3 separate regions of the Homo sapiens genome follow, and all the other regions are linked to region 1. Evidence: promoter capture Hi-C in 16 types of primary human blood cells and fetal thymus (Javierre and others, 2016). All regions are on one chromosome and are shown on one strand. Each heading gives the region's core, a stretch centred on a gene start or on the middle of the fragment in contact. The rest is flanking DNA. Distances are from core to core; before and after follow the strand shown.

Region 1 (3,024 bases), core at 144-2,643:
GGCACTTGGCACAGTGACAGCATGGGTTCACAGCCTCTGTCATGACGGGGCCCTACCTGGCTCAGCAGGGCCCAGGGTCAGCGTCCTCTGCCCGCTTAATGGTCAACATGTATGCGTGCAATTTGTCTGTGTATGTGAGGATGCATGTGTGTGGGTGAACACGTCTCTCCTCCAGCTGGGCCTGGCTGCTCCACTCAGGTGTGCACCTGGATCCCTGTCACTGTCACCCCCGGGCCTGTGGCCAGCATCAGAGCACCCATAGGTGCTCCTCAGCCTCTGCTCTTTCCATGCTGGGTGGTCCTGGGGATGCAGATGGGGCAGGGACATAGGGCAAAGGGCAGAGGGCAGAGGGCAGAGGGCAGAAGCCAGGCTTCCCCCTTGGGGTGACTCGCGTAGTGTGTAAAGTGCCAGGTCTGTGTGGCAGGGCTGGATTCAATGCAATGCACCCTCTCACCTCCTCCTCCCAGAAGCCCACTGGGGTGCTGTGACTCACCCCCCACCCCATGGATGGAGGCAATCACGGAGGCTTCGAGGACTAACCCGTGGCCTGAGATCACCCAGGATCCCACTGGCCAGGCTTCCAATGGTTAAGCTCCCACTGAACAGGTCCTAGCTGACCACCCCCACAATGACCAGGTCCCACTGACCAGATGTGGACTGACCAGGTCCTGCTGACTGGGCCCCACAGACCAGGCCCTGGCTCATCAGACACCACTGACAAAGGCCACAATAACAAGGCTGCAACTGACAAGGCCCTCACGGCCCTCACTGACTAGGTCCCAACTGATGGACCCCACCAAATAGATCTCACTAATCAGACCCCCGCTGACCAGGCCCTAACAACTGCTGGACCCCTGCTGGCCAGGCCCCAAATGCTGAACCCCACTCACCAGGCCCCAAAAGCTGAACCCCACTGACTGGGCCCCAAATGCTGGATCCCTGCTGACAGGCCCCAACTATGGGATCCCCACCAACCAGGCGCCAACTGTCAGACCCCTGCCAACCAGGCCCCGGACGCTGGACTCCACTGACCATGTCCCAGCTACTGGACCCCCACTGACCAGGCCCCAACAACTGCTGGACTGCACTGATCAAGCCCAAACTGCCAGACCCCACTGACTGGGCCCCAACTCCTAGACCCCTCCTGACTGAGCCCCAACTGCCAGACCCTTGCCAACCAGGCCTCTTCTTATGAGACCCCTGCTGACCAGACCCCAACTGCTGGGCCCCTGCTTACCAGGCCCCCACATCCACACCTCACTGACTAGGCCTCACTGCTCTGATCCCCGCCGATCAGGCCCCAAATGCCGGGCCCAGATGACCAGGCCTCAACTGCTAGACGGCCCACCAACCAGGCCTCAGCTCCTGGACCCCTGTTGACCAGGCCCCAACTGCCAGACCCCAATGACCAGGCCCCAACTGCCAGAGCCCTGCTGACCAGGTTCCAACTGCTGGATCCCCTTTGACCAGGCCCCAACTGTTGGACCCCCGACAACCAGGTCCCAACTGCCTGATTCCGCCAACCAGGCCCCAACTGGTAGACCCCTGCTGACCAGGTCCCAACTGCGAGACCCATGCAGATGAAGGCCCAGCGTCCAGACCTCACTGCCTAGACCGCACTGATCTGATCCTCACTGACCAGGCCCCAACCGCCAGACCCCACCTACCAGGTCCCAGCTGCTGCATCCCTGCCAAATAACCCCCAGCTGCCGTATCCCCTCTGACCAGGCCCCAACTGCTGGACCCCCTCCAAACAGGCCCCAACTATAAGACCCCGCTGACCAGGCCCCAACTGCCAGACCCCCATGGACGAGGCTGCAACTGCCAGATCTCTGCTCACCAGGCCCCAACTGTGGGACCCCCGCTGGCCAGACCCCAACCATGAGACCCTCGCCAAACACGCCCCAACTACTGGACTCTTGCTGGCCAGGCCCCAACCCCCAGGGCCTAGTCAGTCAGTGAGACCTGACTAGGTCTCACTGATCAGATCCCCGCTGACCTTGCCCCAGCTGCAGACCCCTATTGACTGTGGGCGGAGGATTACCCAGGTGCCGAGGTGAGAGACTGAAGACACAAACTGTTTCAGTATAATAAAGAAAATAGTTAGAATAAGAATAGTCATAATACAAATTAGATATAGAGATGATCATGGACAATTATCAATCATTATTATAAACATTATTAATCATTAGCTTTTAATATTACTCTTTGTTGCGTTACTAACATAACCTAGGAATAACTGGCGGGTAGAGGGTCAGGTGCTGAAGGGACATTGTTAGAAGTGACCTAGAAGGCAAGAGGTGAGCCCTCTGTCAACGCGTGCATAAGGGCAGCTTGAGGGCTCCTTGGTCAAGCGGTAACGCCAGTGTCTGGGAAGGCGCCCGTTACTTAGCAGACTGCGAAAGGGAGTCTCCTTTCCTTGGAGGAGTCAGGGAACACTGCTCCACCAGCTTCTTGTGGAAGGCTGGATATTATCTAGGCCTGCCGCAGTCATCCGGAGGCCTAAACCCCTCCTTGTGGTGCTGTGCTCCAATGGTCACTTTCATGTTCCTCCCGTACTCCTGGTTCCTCTTTGAAATTTGTAGTAGATAGCGGTAGAAGGAATAGTGAAAGTCTTACAGTCTTTGATCTTTCTTGTAAGTGCATAGAAGAAAACGCTGACGTATGCTGCCTTCTCTCTCTCTGCTTCGGCTACCTAAGAGGGAAGGGCCCCCTGTGCTGTGATCACGTGACTTGCTTCACCTTGTCAATCACTTAGAAGATTCACCCTCCTGACCCTACGCCCCTTGTCTTGTATGCAATAAATATCAGTGTGCCCAGCCATTCAGGGCCACTACTGGTCTCCGCGTCTTGATGGTAGTGGTCCCTCGGGCCCAGCTGTTTTCTCTTTATCTCTTGGTCTTGTGTCTTTATTTCTTACGCTCTCTCGTCTCTGCACACGGGGAGAACACCCGCTAAGTCCCGTAGGGCTGGACCCTCCAATCAACCAGGTCCCAACTGCTGGACCCCACTGACCAGGCCCCA
Region 2 (3,213 bases), core at 553-3,052, 780 kb after region 1:
TGTCTTCAGGCAAATGACTTCATCCTCGAATTTCAGGTTCATGATCTATACTACAGGAATGTGATTATGCTACTTAGACTTAATAGGGTTGCTCTATGGTTAAGTGATGGCTGTCCCTAAAATGTTCAAGGATATCGGGAGAAGGTTGCAAAATAGGAGGAAGAAGCTGGCTGCTTTTTTTTTTTTTTTTGAGACGGAGTCTCGCTCTGTCGCCCTGGCTGGAGTGCAGTGGCGCAATCTCAGCTCACTGCAACCTCCGCCTCCTGGGTTCACGCCGTTCTCCTGCCTCAGCCTCCCTAGTAGCTGGGACTACAGGCGCCCGCCACCACGCCTGGCTAATTTTTTGTATTTTTAGTAGAGACAGGGTTTCACCATGTTAGGATGGTCTCGATCTCCTGACCTCGTGATCCGCCCGCCTCGGCCTCCCAAAGTGCTGGGATTACAGGCGTGAGCCACCGCGCCTGGCCAGAAGCTGGCTTCTTGCAGGGACAGCAGGGCCGCAAGGCTCTGTGACTCTAGGCCCCATCACACCCGGCCCTGTCCCACTTCCTCTTTCGGCCAGAACCCCAGAACTCCAGTCATTCATAGGCCGGGTCCTCCTCGGGGGAACCAGGCCTGCCCCCTAGGAATCAGGGTATCCACGCCTCCTCGGCCCGCTCTCGGAGCCTGGGCCTCAACACCTGCAGATTGGCTCCCGGGCCAGGACCTGTCGCTTGAACATCAGTGGCCGCCGCCGTCCAATCACAGACGTACAGGGGCGGGCTGGCGGGCCTGTTGGGCCAGCAGGAGGACGGCGCCGGGCCGAGGCCGCTGGACCCGCCGTTGGAACCACAGCTGGGTGAAGTCAGTGCTGCTAGGTCTTTGGAGCCAGACCGAAGGGAGGGTCGCGCGCCCCTGGGTGGGTAGCACCAGGCGGCGGCCGTCGGCCGGGCCTCCCGAAGCCTCCTCCAGCCGCTAATACCGCCCGCGCCTCCCTCCTAGTCCTAGACCTGGCATTGCCTGTCCCTCTTCTTCGTCTTCCAGACCCTCCTGACCCGCCATATTAGGTCCCGGCCCCGCCCTCCGTCTCATTGCCCATTGCCCACCCCACCCCACCGCCCCCTCCCCGGCCTACCGTCAGCTCATTGGCCCAGGCTCCCGCCTTCTTCGCCCAATGTTAGGCCTCACCTCCTCTAGGATCCACCCTCTCCCCGCCCACCCGCATAAGCCAGGCCCACCATTCCAACTCTTTCTCCTTTTTGGCTTGTAGGCCGCACCTACTCTGCATATGCCCCGCCCCTCACTCCAGGTGTCGCCCACTTAACTGAAGATCCAGGATCCCCTCCTTAAGGTTTGTCTGGGCTCGGAATTGCCTTTTTTTTTTTTCTTTTTTGAGACGGAGTTTCCCTGTTGTGACCCAGGCTGGAGTACAGTGGCGCGATCTCAGCTCACTGCAACCTCCACGTCCCGGGTTCAAGCGATTCTCCTGCCTCAGCCTCCCAAGTAGCTGGGACTACAGGCGCCCGCCACCACGCCCAGCTAATTTTTGTATTTTTAGTAGAGACGGGGTTTCACCACGTTGCCCAGGCTGGTCTCGAGCTCTTGATCTCAGGTGATCCGCCCGCCTCGGCCTACCAAAGTGCTGGGATTACAGGCGTGAGCCACCGCACCCGGCCCGGAATTGCCGCCTTTAGACCCTCACCCACCCGCTGCTGAGTCTTCCTGGGCCCCGCCCCGGCCCTAAGCCCCGCACAGGACCTGCTAGGCCCCGCCCATTTATTTCCCCCCTTTCCAACCTCTTCCTCCCCAGCCTCCGCACCCTACCCTTGTTTCCTGTCCCTGTCGCGCCCAGGTGTTTACCTGGCACTCAGGTGAGTGGTGCGCTCTGGCTGTTTTCTGTCGGAGCCGCCCGCCTCTTCCTTCAGCGCGTCCCACAAATCCCGACGGCACGGAGGGGCCCCAGGCCAAGGGCGATGGGCCCCTGAGCCCTGACACCGCTTCGCCGCTGCTGCAGGTGCCCCTGGCCGGCAGCGCCGCCGTGGTCCCGGAGCGCGGCGACATGCCGGAGCTGGTGGTGACCGCGCTGCTGGCGCCGTCGCGCCTGTCGCTGAAGCTGCTGCGCGCCTTCATGTGGAGCCTGGTGTTCTCGGTGGCGCTGGTGGCCGCGGCGGTCTACGGCTGCATAGCGCTCACGCACGTGCTGTGCCGGCCCCGGCGCGGCTGCTGCGGGCGCCGTCGGAGCGCGTCCCCCGCCTGCCTGAGCGACCCCTCGCTGGGTGAGCACGGTTTCCTGAACCTCAAGGTGATCGCACGGGGGCGCTATCGGGGCTGCGGGGTCGCGTGGGGTCGAGACGGTTCAAGCCTCGGGAGAGAGGGTTCCCCAGGCTTCAGGCTGTGCCCTCCCCCTAGAGCTCGGGCCTGCGTCTGCACTATGTCTCGGCTGGACGAGGTAACGGACCCCTCATGCTGTTTCTGCACGGCTTCCCTGAGAACTGGTACGTCTGGGGCCAGGGGCCTGAGGCCCACGGGACTCGGGGGCAGGTGGAGCTTGGGCTCCCAAGAGGCAGGGAGGAGGGCTGTATAGATCGGGACAAGCTGAACATAGATGGGGATAGGGGTACTGAGCCAGCATACCCAGGATCCCTAGGCCCTGAAGGGACAGGACAAAGGGGTATTGAGGTTGATTGAAGTTCCCTGGATTCAGGGTGTAGCTGGCTTCAGCCTCAGCCTCTGCCTCTGCCTGGGATTCCCCATCCTCCTTTTAGGGGAAGTTTAGAGCAGGAAGGAGGGTTTGCCAATGGTTGCTGATGTGCGTAGGGTGCAGGTGCAACCTGAGGGCCCTGACTCAGCCTCCCTCCCTCGCCCGCCTGGCAGGTTCTCCTGGCGTTACCAGCTCCGGGAGTTCCAGAGCCGCTTCCATGTTGTGGCTGTGGACTTGCGAGGCTATGGCCCCTCGGATGCACCTCGGGATGTGGACTGCTACACAATCGACCTGCTGCTGGTGGACATCAAAGATGTCATCCTAGGCCTGGGTGCAGACATACCCCCATCCTAGGCGTGGCCTCCCTCATCCTGCACACACGCATACCCCCGCTTTCTCCTTGCTGGAACCTACTTCCCCCATCCCTGCTTCAGTCCTACTGGGCACCTCACTTATGCGAGCTCCTTGAATTCCCACAGGTTACTCGAAGTGCATCCTTGTGGCCCATGACTGGGGTGCCCTCCTTGCCTGGC
Region 3 (3,021 bases), core at 483-2,982, 910 kb after region 1:
TGCTCCGGCCTGGGACCCTTCGGGAGCCTGGGGCTCTGGCTCTGGAGGGCTGGGCTCTGGGCGCTGGGCTGGGTGGCCTGGCAGAGAGCAAGGGGAGTGAGACCCACCCAGCCCCTCACTGCCTGCAGAGCAGCCCTGTGCAATTGATCAGTGGGTGGGATGCTGTGTACGGCCCTGGCCGGCCCCTGATAAGTCATGGTTCCTTGGATCCTGCTGTTTTGTTTGGAATAGGCAGCCACAGGCTAGCGATCTCAGTTATCAGCTTAGAGCACCCCCTACTCAGTCCCTGGCATCCCAAAAGGGGACTCCATCCCTGCAGCCTCAGGGTTCTAAGTCAGGCTTCCTGGGGCCCGTAGGTACTGCGTTCCAGTCTCCACTTCCTCTACCCTCTCAATAACCGTGGCATGGAGCTTTGCACCTGCGTGGCCTTGGGCAAGTCGCTTCCCTCTCTGAGGCTCAGTATCCTCCTGTGAAATGGGGGGATGTGATTTCCATGTCCAGGGAGGCTTCCAGGAGCCTTTTGGAAAAGTATACAGCCCACAGCAGGCACTACGTGCTCAGGAGTGAGGAGCTGGGTTTTCTATTCCCTGCAGCACAGTCACTCCCAGTCCCCTGCCCCTTTTACCCTCCCTCCTGTCTTCCAAACTCTGTCGCCATCCTGGGATGGGCCCTTGTCCCTCAGCCCAGGCCAGACCCCCCACGCTCAATGCTTTGGGACTTCCCCTTCCCTCCCTCCTCTCCTGTCTCATGTCCTGGGCTGTTTCCTGTGTGTGTTTGTGTTTGGGCATCTCTGTCCCTTCTCCCTTCCCTGGGAACATTGGGAATCTTTGGGAAGGCCTGGGGGGAAGGGGTACGTCCATGGAATGGTCTGGCCTTCCTCCTTTAACTCCTTCCTTCCTGGGTCCCCCTATCCCACGCAGCTGTTTCTCTAAGGTTTTTACTTGCTACCCTGCTGAACTCCTCCTCTGGCCACCTCTGATGTCCACCCTCTAGGGTCTCTGTTTGTAGCATAGTCCAAAGAGCTGTTTAAGTCGATGGCCCTGGGCACATGACCCAATTGCTCCGTGCCTCAGTTTCCCCATCTGTATAAAAGGGACAGTTTCCTGGGGCTAAGGCAGGCGCAGTTGCCGTCACTGTTAGTAGGTGGGAGGCGGAGGGGGCAGCTACTCTGATTGACGGGCCGCCCCTCTCTTTCCTTTGCAGGAGTACGCCTCCCATCTCCCATCCTGCGCCTCCAGGGCTCCCGATGCCCCTTGCCCAGCCCGACTGGGCCCCAGTGTCCCGGCCTCCCAGCCCCTCCTCCCCTCCACCCTCCAGGCCCTCAGTCGCGGCCCCATTTCCTGTCGTGGGCGAGGCCCCCTCCCGGGCCTCCCAAGGAGCCCGCAGCGCTGGCATCCCCGGCCAGCAGCACATAACGGTCCGCGCCCCCCTCCCTCCCAGCCCCTTCCTTCCAGGACCCCTACCCTCCCCTGGCTGGAGGCACCCCAGTCTGCAGCGGGGTGCGGGGGGCTCCCCCTGATCCCCCCCACCGTCTGTCCTCGGGGCCCTGGGACCCCGCTCCCAGGCCGGGTGGGGCTCGGCGCCCCCTGTTCCCCACCGATCTCCGCTTACCGCGCTCCTTGGCGTCCGACTTTTTCCGGGGAAGTTTCTCCCGGCCCCGCAGGCGGGAGAAGGTTTTCCTGAGTAGCGGCTCGGCCATGCTGCGGCCCGGGCCGGGCCGAGCCGAGTGCGCGCCCCGGGCTCCGGCCGCGCCGCCCCGCGCCCTCCCCGCCCCGCCCGGGCCTCCCCGCCCGCCCCCCGCCCCGCGCCAGCAGGAAGCACATTCCGGGAATGCTTGGCCCAAACTTTTTTTTTTTTTCCCCTTTCCCGCGGCCCGAGCGGGCGATGCTGGGAGATGTAGTTGCCTGGGGCCGGGAGGGGTTGGAATGGGGGCTCCGGGTGCCCGGATCCGCTCCAGCTTCGATGGGACGTGACGATCGTGGCGCAGGCCCGATCCCTTGTCTTCCACCTCACCCACCCTCCCTGGATGGGACTCTGGGTGATGGCATCCAGGAAGTTCTCTTGGGTCTGTCTCCAAATCGCAGCCTCCACGTATCCTCTCTCTCCTTGCCAGGTACTGCTTCAACCTGGTGCAAGCCGTAGTGTCATTCGTTTCAATGACCGTCCCCACTACCCACCCCACCCCAAGCTTCTTCCTTGGTCTCCCCATGCCACTCTTTCCCCACTCAATTCTCTCACCTCCAAATTCCAATTACTACTGCTGTTTGACAAACCATCCCCAAACGTAATGATGTAAAACAACCATGTCGTGATTGTGAAAGGAAAATAAATCTTGAGACCTCCAAATCACTGAGCCAAAAGGAAGAAGTCAAACTGGTAACTGTGTAGGACAAACCTGCCTCCCATTCTATTCCTAAGTAAGATAGCTACAAGGTTAAAAAAGCTAGCTGGGCGCGGTGGCTCACTCCTGTAATCCTAGCACTTTGGGAGGCTGAGGCGACGGATCACTTGAGGTCAGGAGTTCGAAACCAGGCTGGCCAACATGGTGAAACTCCATCTCTACTAAAAATATGAAAAAGAAAAAAAATTGGCCAGGCATGGTGGGTGGGCACTGGTAATCCCAGCTATTTGGGAGGCTGAGGCAGGAAAATTGCTTGAACACGGGAGGTGGAGGTTGCAGTGAATCAAAATTGCACCACTGCACTCTAGCCTGGTCATCAGAGCAAGATGCCGTCTAAAAAAAAAGAAGAAAAGAAAAGAAAAAAAAAGCTACATACCTCCCCCACAATTTGCCTACAAGGAAATTCCTTATGGATGAAGGACAGGCAGAACTCAAAATTGTCCCTCTGCTCACATGAGACAAACACATATCTGATCGCTTCCTTACCTATTTGTTTCACTAAGCCAGACTAAGGCATAAGTGACTATCTCTGTAAATTGCATATTCAGAAAGGCTAGTCAGAAACTCGAAAGAATGCAATTGTTTCTCTCTTATCCACCTATAACCTGGAAGCCTTCTCC

The links. Contacts are between HindIII fragments. The CHiCAGO score rates a contact against its expected background, and 5 or more counts as called.
Region 2: a contact is called between the fragment with the promoter of EPHX3 here and the fragment with the promoter of LINC00661 in region 1, in 4 of 17 cell types (total CD4 T cells, neutrophils, non-activated CD4 T cells and 1 more). The highest score is 7.8, in total CD4 T cells.
Region 3: a contact is called between the fragment with the promoter of SYDE1 here and the fragment with the promoter of LINC00661 in region 1, in 1 of 17 cell types (total CD8 T cells). The highest score is 5.1, in total CD8 T cells.

What each region holds. Positions count from the first base shown.
Region 1 is chr19:16,014,003-16,017,026 of GRCh38, reverse strand. LINC00661 (long intergenic non-protein coding RNA 661) reads right to left here and starts at 1,393. Exons shown (of 9, transcript NR_026828.1): 1 at 1,238-1,393. It overlaps LOC105372291 (a long non-coding RNA gene), which reads left to right and starts at 1,971. Exons shown (of 2, transcript XR_936355.1): 1 at 1,971-2,056; 2 at 2,642-2,891. The HindIII fragment of the contact is 12,039 bases long and covers 1-3,024 here.
Region 2 is chr19:15,231,037-15,234,249 of GRCh38, reverse strand. EPHX3 (epoxide hydrolase 3) reads left to right here and starts at 1,802. Exons shown (of 7, transcript NM_024794.3): 1 at 1,802-2,281; 2 at 2,389-2,474; 3 at 2,854-3,011; 4 at 3,160-3,213. The coding sequence starts at 2,039. RefSeq lists a silencer at 1,053-1,212 and an enhancer at 1,551-2,052. The HindIII fragment of the contact is 10,766 bases long and covers 1-3,213 here.
Region 3 is chr19:15,106,112-15,109,132 of GRCh38, reverse strand. It overlaps SYDE1 (synapse defective Rho GTPase activating protein 1), which reads right to left and starts at 1,732. Exons shown (of 8, transcript NM_033025.6): 1 at 1,612-1,732; 2 at 1-77. The coding sequence starts at 1,699. RefSeq lists an enhancer at 1-46. The HindIII fragment of the contact is 2,464 bases long and covers 1-2,190 here.